3 separate regions of the Homo sapiens genome follow, and regions 1 and 2 are each linked to region 3. The links are contacts of gene promoters, found by promoter capture Hi-C in blood cells and fetal thymus (Javierre and others, 2016). All regions are on one chromosome and are shown on one strand. The core of a region is centred on a gene start or on the middle of the fragment in contact, and the rest is flanking DNA. Distances in the headings are between cores, read along the strand shown.

The links. The method cuts DNA at HindIII sites, captures the fragments that hold promoters and counts their contacts. A CHiCAGO score of 5 or more calls a contact.
Region 1: a contact is called between a fragment that was not itself captured here and the fragment with the promoter of DISP1 in region 3, in 6 of 17 cell types (megakaryocytes, endothelial precursors, M1 macrophages and 3 more). The highest score is 12.2, in megakaryocytes.
Region 2: a contact is called between a fragment that was not itself captured here and the fragment with the promoter of DISP1 in region 3, in 1 of 17 cell types (megakaryocytes). The highest score is 7.1, in megakaryocytes.

What each region holds. Positions count from the first base shown.
Region 1 is chr1:222,993,906-222,997,510 of GRCh38, reverse strand. DISP1 (dispatched RND transporter family member 1) reads right to left here. Exons shown (of 9, transcript NM_001377229.1): 8 at 2,529-2,626. Among named protein-coding and RNA genes, the nearest start is that of TLR5, 150 kb to the left of the region's middle. The HindIII fragment of the contact is 2,907 bases long and covers 652-3,558 here.
Region 2 is chr1:222,976,936-222,980,601 of GRCh38, reverse strand. The region is part of intron 3 of DISP1 (dispatched RND transporter family member 1); the gene reads right to left. Among named protein-coding and RNA genes, the nearest start is that of DISP1, 160 kb to the right of the region's middle. The HindIII fragment of the contact is 5,518 bases long and covers 1-3,666 here.
Region 3 is chr1:222,813,115-222,816,813 of GRCh38, reverse strand. It overlaps DISP1 (dispatched RND transporter family member 1), which reads right to left and starts at 1,775. Exons shown (of 9, transcript NM_001377229.1): 1 at 1,736-1,775. RefSeq lists silencers at 1,815-1,914, 2,005-2,084 and an enhancer at 2,325-2,384. The HindIII fragment of the contact is 6,781 bases long and covers 1-3,007 here.

The DNA of each region.
Region 1 (3,605 bases), core at 856-3,355, 180 kb before region 3:
TGCAAATCAGCTGAACTTTAATATTGTATCTCTTCTAAGCACGCTGTTAAAAATTTTGTACACAGTGTCACACTTCTTTTATGAAGACTATGGGGGAACTGTCTCCTCCCGTCTTAGCAGGAGGAAAAGCTGGGCTTCTAAAAAACAAACTTGTTACCCTATTTATATGACTTTTGTTACTGATTGTGAATCCTTTTTGCTCTGGCTGCTGGGAGGTTACAGATAAGTTTGCAGCTCCCATCAGCAAATGTACAAGATTGTGGGGTGTGCATTAGTATAAATCTCATCCTTAGCTTTATTATTTTCCTCCCATTGTTTTCCCTTCATGTATTTCATTCAACTTATTTATCTCATCCTTTGCATATGCTTTTCTGTAAACTACCTCAACATGATGATTTTTATCATCTATCTATCTATATAAATCATGTTGAGGTAGTTTACAAATATATATATATATATAGAGAGAGAGAGAGAGACAGAGAGAGAGGAGAGATGAGAGACTATACTACTTTTATTTATGAAAGCCACCATGGCGTACTATTGCTTACTGGCTTTTGAGTCTCAGAGTCTAACATGTACTCATGGAATAAATTGCTAGCTCTTTAAGAAAAAAAAGGATACTTATTCCAGACCACAGTGACTTTTTAAGCTTCATTTGTGTGGGAAATGGCATATACAGGAAACAAAACGGGGGAGGTATCTTCCTCACTAGAAGCATAAAGCAGGGTGGGTAAAGGCAGACGCTGGAGTTCAACTTGGCTGGGTTCCAATCCTGGAAGTGCCCCTGACCAAAGATGTGAACTTTCCTCAACTGAAAAATGGGCTATTTAGTATTTAATTCACAACACTGTCATTGGGATTAAATGAAATAATGTATTAAAGTATTTAGAACACTTCCTGGCACATGGTAAATACTCACTAAATATCAGCTATTAATTAACTGAGTGAATTCAATCACTTCAGAGTCTTCAGGAAAGGGAAGGTCTGAAGATCAACCAAAGGTAGAAGAATGAGGACAAGAAGGAATAGAAATTAATGAACTGTACTCATCCAAGGTGAGATTATAAAGTAACCAGACTGGCTTAGCTTCTCTTAGCTTAATTTATCATCCGTGTAAAATGCATTGTAAATTCCAAGGTCACAGATCCACTGTGAGTGATGTACAAGTACCCAGCATAAAGTCTTGCACATAGTAAATTTCGCTACACATTTACAACTTTAGAGTTAATTTTCTGTATAAGAAGTATCCTAATGCATGACAAAGAGAAATAGGTTCATAGCCTTCAAATAAGGAACTGATAGCTGTAGAAGAGAAGAAAACATCACAAATAAAAATTGATCACCAATTAAGAAACTTTGGTCTATTTATAGATCGTTTGTGGCTTTGGTCTATGTGAAAGGAAGATAGCACTGACAGAAAATCCTGATACCTCAGTCGATTGGAAAGTCATTTTCAAAATGTACAAACAGCCTCTTAGAATGAAGGATGGGGTAAATCTGGGAGGTCTGGGACCAACTAACTAGGTTACCTGGTTAAGATACTTAGTTCTTAGAAGGTACTCATGTTAGTACAATGAGACTGCTGGTTTGGGTGATCTCTTCTTTCCTTTCTACTGCCTATTTCATTAAGAAATTTCCCTGTTGACCGAACAGGTGATTGCATGAGGTGGTCAGGCTAGCTCTCAGCACGGCACATGATTCGATTTTTTAACCAGTCATTTTACATTTTAGAGTTATGCTGAGAACACAAAGAGTTCCTTTTATGCTGGTTGCTATGCTTGGACAAGTTCATTAGTGACATCAGATAGCAGTTTCTATTTAGAGAAACTATCTCTGAACATATGAAATTGACAGCTCTTCCAAACCCAGAAGCTCACTACATTTTCTGATGCGGACATGTTTTTGGCTGTAGAGAAGACTGAGAGACAAAGCGCCTGTCTTCTTGCATCCCGGTGTCTCCCGAAGCAGCAAGGTGTTTAGCATTCAGGGCAGTTTGGATTGGATTACTGTGGTCATTTACATAGATACTGTATTTATGCTCTTTGATGTCCCCTTTCCCAGCCTGCTCCCTAAATTTCCCTTTGAGGTCACTGGCCCAAATGACCCAGTGATTGCCAGAGAGGCAGGCATTTCATTGCACAATTAAGATGCTGACAACTGCCTCAGGGCAGGAAATAGGGAACAATGAAACTAGGTTAGGAAATAAAAATACAACAAAAGAAGAAAAACAGTCTTAAATATTATACTGAAAAGAAATACTATGTGAAATAACAGAAAACACCATCAACAGCCAGAGATCATGAATGGGAAAGAAAAAGGAAGATGGTATGTTTTAAAGTTGAAGGAAACACGGACACTTTGATCCTGGGATCTGAAAGAATGCAAAGCTGGCCTGCTGGAGTTTACTCCTCAGTAGGTAAGCCTCTGAAGTACTTTCATCTGATCAGAAACCAGGGTCAGCAGTAAAAGGAGTTTCAATAATACAACCTTATTTGTGCTAAGGAGATTTTAGTTTTTATCTTACATACCCTGGAATTATCTACATTGCACATTGATTTAATTGCAGGTAAATTCCATAATGTCTCCCCTCCAGATGAAGTAAATACCACTCTGGAATATCGGTCACCTGGTGATATGAAAAAAAAAAGGAAAGAAAAAGGTTTATAAATTATTCATTTATTTCATAAGACTCAGGATTTGGAAATAATTCAAACTGGGAAACCACATGGATGATTCATTAGCAGCAGGAAATTCTTTCCTTTGATAAATTCCAGGAGAAAATGTTAAAAGAAAAAAAAAAGCAATGCCATAATATTGTCTTAGCGCAAAGCCTTTGTCTACTCACTACATCTTAAAATTGTATGAATTATATAGCAAATCTATTTTTGGTCAGACTATAGGAAGAAAAATCCACAGGAATTTACAACAGGAAACGAATTGAATATATCCCTCTTAATTTCACAACACATCACCCTAATACAAAAAGATGCACTAGGGAATACCAAGAATGGATTATAGGGATGTTCTCCCTGGCAGCTAACTAGAGAGGAGAGATGGTGGGTGATCTATTTAAAATCGCTAAAAACAGCCAACTAAGTACAGAATGCTGGCCACATTCTGGTCGAGTACATGGTCTCTCTGGTACACTAGAGGCTAGAAAAAATATTTTGAAAATCAGATTAACAAAAAAATATGTTTCTGAATAAGGGAGGTTGTATGATATACCAGAAAGAGCATGCATGGTCTTTAAAGTCAGATTAGGATATAACCAGGTCCTGTCATTTACTAGCTACGTGACCTTAGGCAACTAACAACTTCTCTGAGCCTTGGTTCTTCATTTGTAAAATGCAGACAGCAATATCTATCTCAAATAGCTGTGAGAATTAAATGAGATAATAATAGATGCCCAACAATATTGTTTCTGTATCCTCAGAACAGAAACAATATGAACCACGTATTAAAGAATATGAACCACATAAAACAAAGAAGATTAATTTTATGATAGTTAAAATGTCTAATTGTGCTAACAAATAAGCTGGTAAATTTATGAATAAAGCTTTATTATAAAAGTTTTTATTTATGATCATGAAGTTTTGGCTATTATC
Region 2 (3,666 bases), core at 639-3,138, 160 kb before region 3:
TGTGGATGTCAGATCAGTGCGTGTTGGATTAATGAATGGGGATCTTTGATTACTTTTCTCATACTCAACAGCTTTGAAATCAGTAGACAATGAATTAAAAAAGCAAGAAGCTAGGGACATAAATATTAATATAGGTAATTTTTATTTTGTTTCTCTCTTATACACACACACACACACACACACACACACACTTTGTTACATCAGCCCATTCCTATTTGTCAATCCTAAACTCTTTCAACATTTTACTAAACTTTGTAAGTTTCTCTCTGTGCCTCTGTATCCTACAGTATAGGCTCTCTGTTCAATGCTGCAGGAACCATTAGTTTGTTGGTTAATCAGAAAGGTTAATTAAAGAGAAACATTTTTTGAAGTTCTACATACATTCCTTAAATATCTAATAGTAACTTAAACATAAATGTTAATCTGTTCTTACATAAACCATAGACCTGCTGCATTGTCTATGACTGAGTTTTTGAGGACTTTGGATACTTTTGAGTATCCTGGATATACTGACTACAATACACAACTAAATTTTGATGATTTTTTTCCCCAGATCTTTTACAATTTTCTCTTCCATGCCTAATTCAGCAGTAAAATTTTTTTGTAGCAATTAACCTTTTTTTCCTAAGGCTACAATTTTCTTTTCGTGAAAACAACTTTTTCTTTTAGCATCTATATATAAGTGAACTAAAAACATTAATCAGATAACATAATTACCAAAACAAGCCAACTGGCATGCGTGGGTTTGGTAAGCACACTTGTCAAATGCTGGGAGCAGAAGTGTGTGGCTGTAGGAGACAGCAGCCTCCTGACCTGCAGCGCTCAGCTGGCCAGGGCTATCCAAGTATGCATAGAGGGACGGAGTGCAGGGCCACTCCAGTGAGCTGGTGAGGGCTTAGCAGCTTTACACAGACTGGGCTTTCAGTGAACACGTTCACATCTGAAGAAGCCATGAAGCACACTTAGTTTTTCTGGTGAATCTACAAAAGACCAAAAACCCCCAAAAGCTGTATTTTCAAATACAATTACACATTGATTTTTCAATGAGTTTTATTGAGATATAATTCATATACCACATAATTCACCCAATTAAGTGTACAATTCCATGTTTTCAGTACTTTCATGAGTTATGCAACCATCACTACAACTATAAATTAATTTTATTTAAAAATTTTTAAATTTAAATTTTTTTTTTGAGACAAGGTCTTGCTCTGTCACCCAGGCTGGAGTGCAGTGGGCCAGCTCACTGTAGTCTCAATTTCCTGGGCTCAAGTAATCCTCCCACCTCAGCCTCCTGAGTAGTTGGGACCACAGGCGTGCGCCATGACACCCAGTTAATTTTTTAGATTTTTTATTTGTAGATGTGGGGTCTCCCTGTGCTGCCTATGCTGGTCTTAAACTCCTGGGCTCAAGTGACACTCTCGCCCAGGCTCCCAAAGTGCTGGGATTACAGGCGTGAGCCCCTGTGCCCAGCTTATATATTGATTCTAGCCCAAGGTAATTTATAGATTCAATGCCATCCCCATCAAGCTACCAATGACTTTCTTCACAGAATTGGAAAAAACTACTTTAAAGTTCATATGGAACCAAAAAAGAGCCTGCATCGCCAAGTCAATCCTAAGCCAAAAGAACAAAGCTGGAGGCATCATGCTACCGGACTTCAAACTATACTACAAGGCTACAGTAACCAAAACAGCATGGTACTGGTACCAAAACAGAGAGATAGACCAATGGAACAGAACACAGCCCTCAGAAATAATGCCACATATCTACAACTATCTGATCTTTGACAAACCTGACAAAAACAAGAAATGGGGAAATGATTCCCTATTTAATAAATGGTGCTGGGAAAACTGGCTAGCCATATGTAGAAAGCTGAAATTGGATCCCTTCCTTACACCTTATACAAAAATTAATTCAAGATGGATTAAAGACTTAAATGTTAGACCTAAAACCATAAAAACCCTAGAAGAAAACCTAGGCAATACCATTCAGGACACAGGCATGGGCAAAGACTTCATGTCTAAAACACCAAAAGCAATGGCAACAAAAGCCAAAATTGACAAATCGGATCTAATTAAACTAAAGAGCTTCTGTACAGCAAAAGAAACTACCAACAGAGTGAACAGGCAACCTACAGAATGGAGAAAATTTTTGCAATCTACTCATCTGACAACGGGCTAATATCCAGAATCTACAATGAACTCAAACAAATTTACAAGAAAAAACAAACAACCCCATCAAAAAGTGGGCGAAGGATATGAACAGACACTTCTCAAAAGAAGACATTTATGCAGCCAAAAAACACATGAAAAAATGCTCATCATCACTGGCCATCAGAGAAATGCAAATCAAAACCACAACGAGATACCATCTCACACCAGTTAGAATGGCAATCATTAAAAAGTCAGGAAACAACACGTGCTGGAGAGGATGTAGACAAATAGGAACACTTTTACACTGGGACCGTAAACTAGTTCAACCATTGTGGAAGTCGTTGTGGAAGGGATCTAGAACTAGAAATACCATTTGACCCAGCCATCCCATTACTGGGTATATACCCAAAGGATTATAAATCATGCTGCTATAAAGACACATGCACACGTATGTTTATTGTGGCACTATTCACAATAGCAAAGACTTGGAACCAACCCAAATGTCCATCAATGATAGACTGGATTAAGAAAATGTGGCACATATACACCATGGAATACTATGCAGCCATAAAAAGTGATGAGTTCATGTCCTTTGTAGGAACATGGATGAAGCTGGAAACCATCATTCTCAGCAAACTATCGCAAGGACAAAAAACCAAACACTGCATGTTCTCACTCATAGGTGGGAATTGAACAATGAGAACACATGGACACAGGAAGGGGAATATCACACACCGGGGCCTGTTGTGGGGTCGGGGGAGAGGGGAGGGATAGCATTAGGAGATATACCTAATGTTAAATGACGAGTTAATGGGTGCAGCACACCAACATGGCACATGTATACATATGTAACTAACCTGCACGTTGTGCACATATACCTAAGACTTAAAGTATAATAAAAAAAAAAAAAAGAATTTAAAAAAAAAAGAAAATGACAATGATGTCATAAAAATATAGTGACAAGTAATCTAAGAAGTACATGTAAAGTTATGGGAGTTAGACAAAAAATATTTGTAATTAAGCCTTTCCAAGACAAGACAACTAAGTCCTTAACAAATAAAACAATATTTGTCAGCCCTCTTTGAAAAAAAAAAAAAAAAAAAGAATATGCTGACCGGGCGTGGTGGCTCATGCCTGTAATCCCAGCACTTTGGGAGGCCAGAGCTGGCAGATCACCTGAGGTCGGAAGTTCAAGAGCAGCCTGACCAACATGGAGAAACCCCATCTCTGCTAAAAAAAAATACAAAAACTAGCCGGGCATGGTGGTGCATGCATGTAATCCCAGCTACTCAGGAGGCTGAGGCAGGAGAATCGCTTGAACCTGGGAGGCGGAGGTTGCGGTGAACCGAGATCGCGCCATTGTACTCCAGCCTGGGCAATAAGAGCGAAACTCCGTCTCAAAAAAAAGAATATGCTATCTGAACACCAGTGATGAAACTATTAATGAGCTATGAAAGCAAATGTGTTTTTCCAGAGAGTAAGGCAGTGGACAAGGAAGCAAATCACTTGT
Region 3 (3,699 bases), core at 526-3,025:
AGATCAGTGTTATCTCTTCATTTTGTAATTTGAAAACTTATTCAATATGCTCATTTACATGTTAAGGCACTGTTTATGTTTAGGCCTTGCTTTACACTTGTAAATATCAGCAGTCCTCCTAAACATAAGGACGTTATAACTGTGTATTTCACTCAAGCACAGATATTCAAGGCCATCAAGAATTTATAAGCTAGCAAGATATCGCAGTACCAATAAATATAAAATGTTCTAGTTTTCCTGAATTAGTTCAAGTCAGACCACCAAATCAGATCTAAAAGTTACCTGTACTAATACAGTAATTTTTAAAACAAAAACTTCTAACATTTGAAATGTGAAACACCTGAAACAAGCAAAGCAATCATCAGATCTCACCCTCCATCAGTGACAGTGTTATGATTCTTCCTAGCTACCTTGCTCACTTTGTGGCAAAAATCCAATTCACTTACTACCTACTTAAAAGCTAGGAGAATCTTTGTAATTACACTGAGTGAAACACTATATTATGTAGATTAGGAAGCACATATTAATCACATCCAATAAAACATAAATGCAAGGTAAATAATAACTAAATCAATAATTACCTTTGGTAATAATAATGAGCCCACATACCAAACACTGGCCACTGGGGAAAACTAAATGTGCTAATGTGCGTGTAACAACAGATCTTGGGTTATCAATATTTTTAAAAAACACTGACAATGGCAAATATTTATATATATATATATATATATATATATATATTTCCTTACAGCAGAAATAAAAAGGAACAGTAAAATCTTAAGAACTGCTAGTAATTTGCTGCACCCTGATGTAAAATTGCCTTTATTGGTTAAACTAAAAGACTAAACCCAACAAAATAGCTTTTAGAAAAAATGTGTTAGAAAGTTGGACAGAAAAACAATGAGTTGAAACTGCAAACATTGACAGCACTGGCTTTCCATGTGATTATCACCATAATTCTGAACGCATTTAGTTCATCCCATGACAAGGGAAATAAGACAAGCTAAACTCTGCAGGGTAGAGAAGAGTCCAAAAGGAAAACTTTGGTTGTCTTCCTTGGGTGAAGAGAACTCTCAACTACTATCAGTTTGACAAAGACACGCAGAATCTGGGTGAAGCAAGAATTCGAGCGGTCCCTAGGAATATACAATATTTTCCCGAAATCCACACGCGCGGAGCGGGATATATTTCTAAAAACAAAAAACAAACTGCATGAATTGCAAATGAAGCAATAGGAGTTCAGCATCCAATAGGTGGCTGGTCATCTTTCTGGTTCGTTAGGTCAAGACGTCCTTCTCACCTACGACCCTCAGAGAAGGACTGACTCCCTCCTCTGTAACCTCTCCCTGGAAGCCAACCTTTGCCATCTCCTGCCATCCTCTCAGTCAATCCGCCAGGACCCGGGACACGCCCCCACGAATGACTACTTTCCTCCGAGATGCAACTCTGCCCCGTGTCATCCGCAACCTCCAGTCTCAGGGCCTCTTTGGCCTCAGGGTCCCCGGTGCCTCCCTCCTCAGTCCCTAAAGGCTGCCCTTAGGGCTCTCCTGGTTCCCCGTTCTCAGTCCTGGCCCTTCTCTCAAGCCTGGGGTCCCGGATTTCCCTCCACACGCGCGGGAGATGCCGACTCTCCCGTCCCTACCCGGTCTCCCAGTCCCGCGGCGCCGGGCGGCGGCGCGCCGAAAGGCATCCACTGAGGAAACAAGTGCCTGCAACGTTCCGGCTGCGAACTCACCTCCAGTCCGGGCTCTCGGATGCTGGCCCGGAGCCGGGCTTCCGCCTGGCGCGGTCCGCGTCGCGAGCGGGACCGGAAGTCCCGCCCCTCGCCCGCTCCCGGCCCGCTCCCGGCCCGCTGGCCTCGCTTGACTACCGCTCCCCGGGAGAGGGATCGCCGGCGGCGGGCGACGGGCGGCTGGCAAGGGGCAGAGGGCAGAGGGGCTTGGCTTGAAAGGGCGAGGCAGGCGCCAAAAAAATTCCCTCTCGCGCTCCTGCTCTTTCTAGTGTATCCATCGACCAGTGTGCAAATGCTTGACCAAGCGTCTATTCTGCCCAAGCCCAGTGAGGCACAAGATGACTCAGACACTGACCTCTGTCCTCACAATCTAGTTAAAAGTTGACATAAGTAAAAACAGAAGTAAATCACGCCACAAGACAGTGTTTCTTCTTTCATTATTCAGATTATTATCACCTGCTATATAGGCCTGTGAACAACCAGGCACTGCTGTAGGGGCTGGGGATAGAGCGAACAGAGGACAGCCCCACTCTCGTGAGGCTTACACTCAGGGCGAGGAACTAGCTATAGAATAAATCGAACAGCGGCGGCTCCCTCGGGAGGCTTATGCACAGAAACAAAAATATATAAGCAATGAAACCATCAAGTGTTAGAGGCACTCTGGTGGTGCTGTAGGGAACGGTGCAATGTAGAGAGCTGGGCGGAGAAGGCTTTCTAGAAATAATGACTCTTCAATTGAGACTGAAATAAATGATGAATAAGAGTTAAAGGACAGGCACAGTGGAGAAGGGCATGCAGAGAAGAAGGACGTTATGGAGTGAGAGCTTGGCTTGTACCGGTAGCTGGCCAGGAGTTAAGCAAAGTGTCAGATGGCAGATGCAAGAGCAAGCATAATGAGAAGAGACAAGGCCAAATCATGAAGAACGTTGTGCCCTATGCTTAAAAATTTTGGACTTCAGAGACTCCGTGCAACGGAATCCGTGGGGTCATCTAAGGGAATAGACAAAACAGTGAGTCATGGGGTTGACTAGGGGGATTGTCCTAGTCATCAAAGAAAAATAATACATCATGAATAGCATGTTTTATCCTTGAGGGTGCTTTCTTGAACTGCCATACCCAGATGTAAAGGCAATAGACGGCTACCACAACCCTATAAAGGCAGGACCACAAGGGATCATACCCCTCAGGTTGCTGCATTGAGCAAATCACCCCAACCAACTGAGATGCTAACTGAAGTCACAGGGAACTATGGAATGGGCCCAGAAGAAAGAAGCTTCAACACCAGCTACAGTAATGAGGACTGTTGCATTTTTTGTTTGTTTTCTTTGCTACCAGTGTTTAATAAATACTCTCTTGCACACCAAGCCCTTTCTTTGCCTTTTTAAAAAGGAATGGTATAATACATACATTTTTCTTTTTTTCTCCTTTTGCCAGCAAAAGGCCATACATTGCAATATATGGAGATAGGATTACAGTAGAAGAAAATGAGGAATGGATATCGTGTAGAAAGTCTGTACTTAGAGGGCATAACATCAACTCTAAGTGAAGTAAAAGGTCACGCGTTTGGGTTTTCTCCCATTGGGAAGGTTAGTAGTCCATTTGTGGTGATACTTGAAATAACTGATTCACATAGCGGCAAGGTGTATTTTTGAAAGGATGGAAAGAAGAGAGTGTGTATGTGGTGTGATGTGGGGGGTGTGTGTGTGTGTGTGTGTGTGTGTGTGTGTGCCCACGCTGGGTGCCAAGAAGTAGAATGTAATAGACACTCTGTGAAATGTTTCCTTATAGCTTCTCACAATTCCTTTTTTTGTAGGAATGGCTGAAATACATAGAGGCAGTCCTTTTATGGGCCACATATGCACAAGCGACCATGTCCTAGTGTGACCAGCTACTCTGGTTTGCTAAAGACAGGGGGATACCAGGATGCTGGACTTTCGGTGCTTAAACTGGGATAGTTTTGCGAAAAC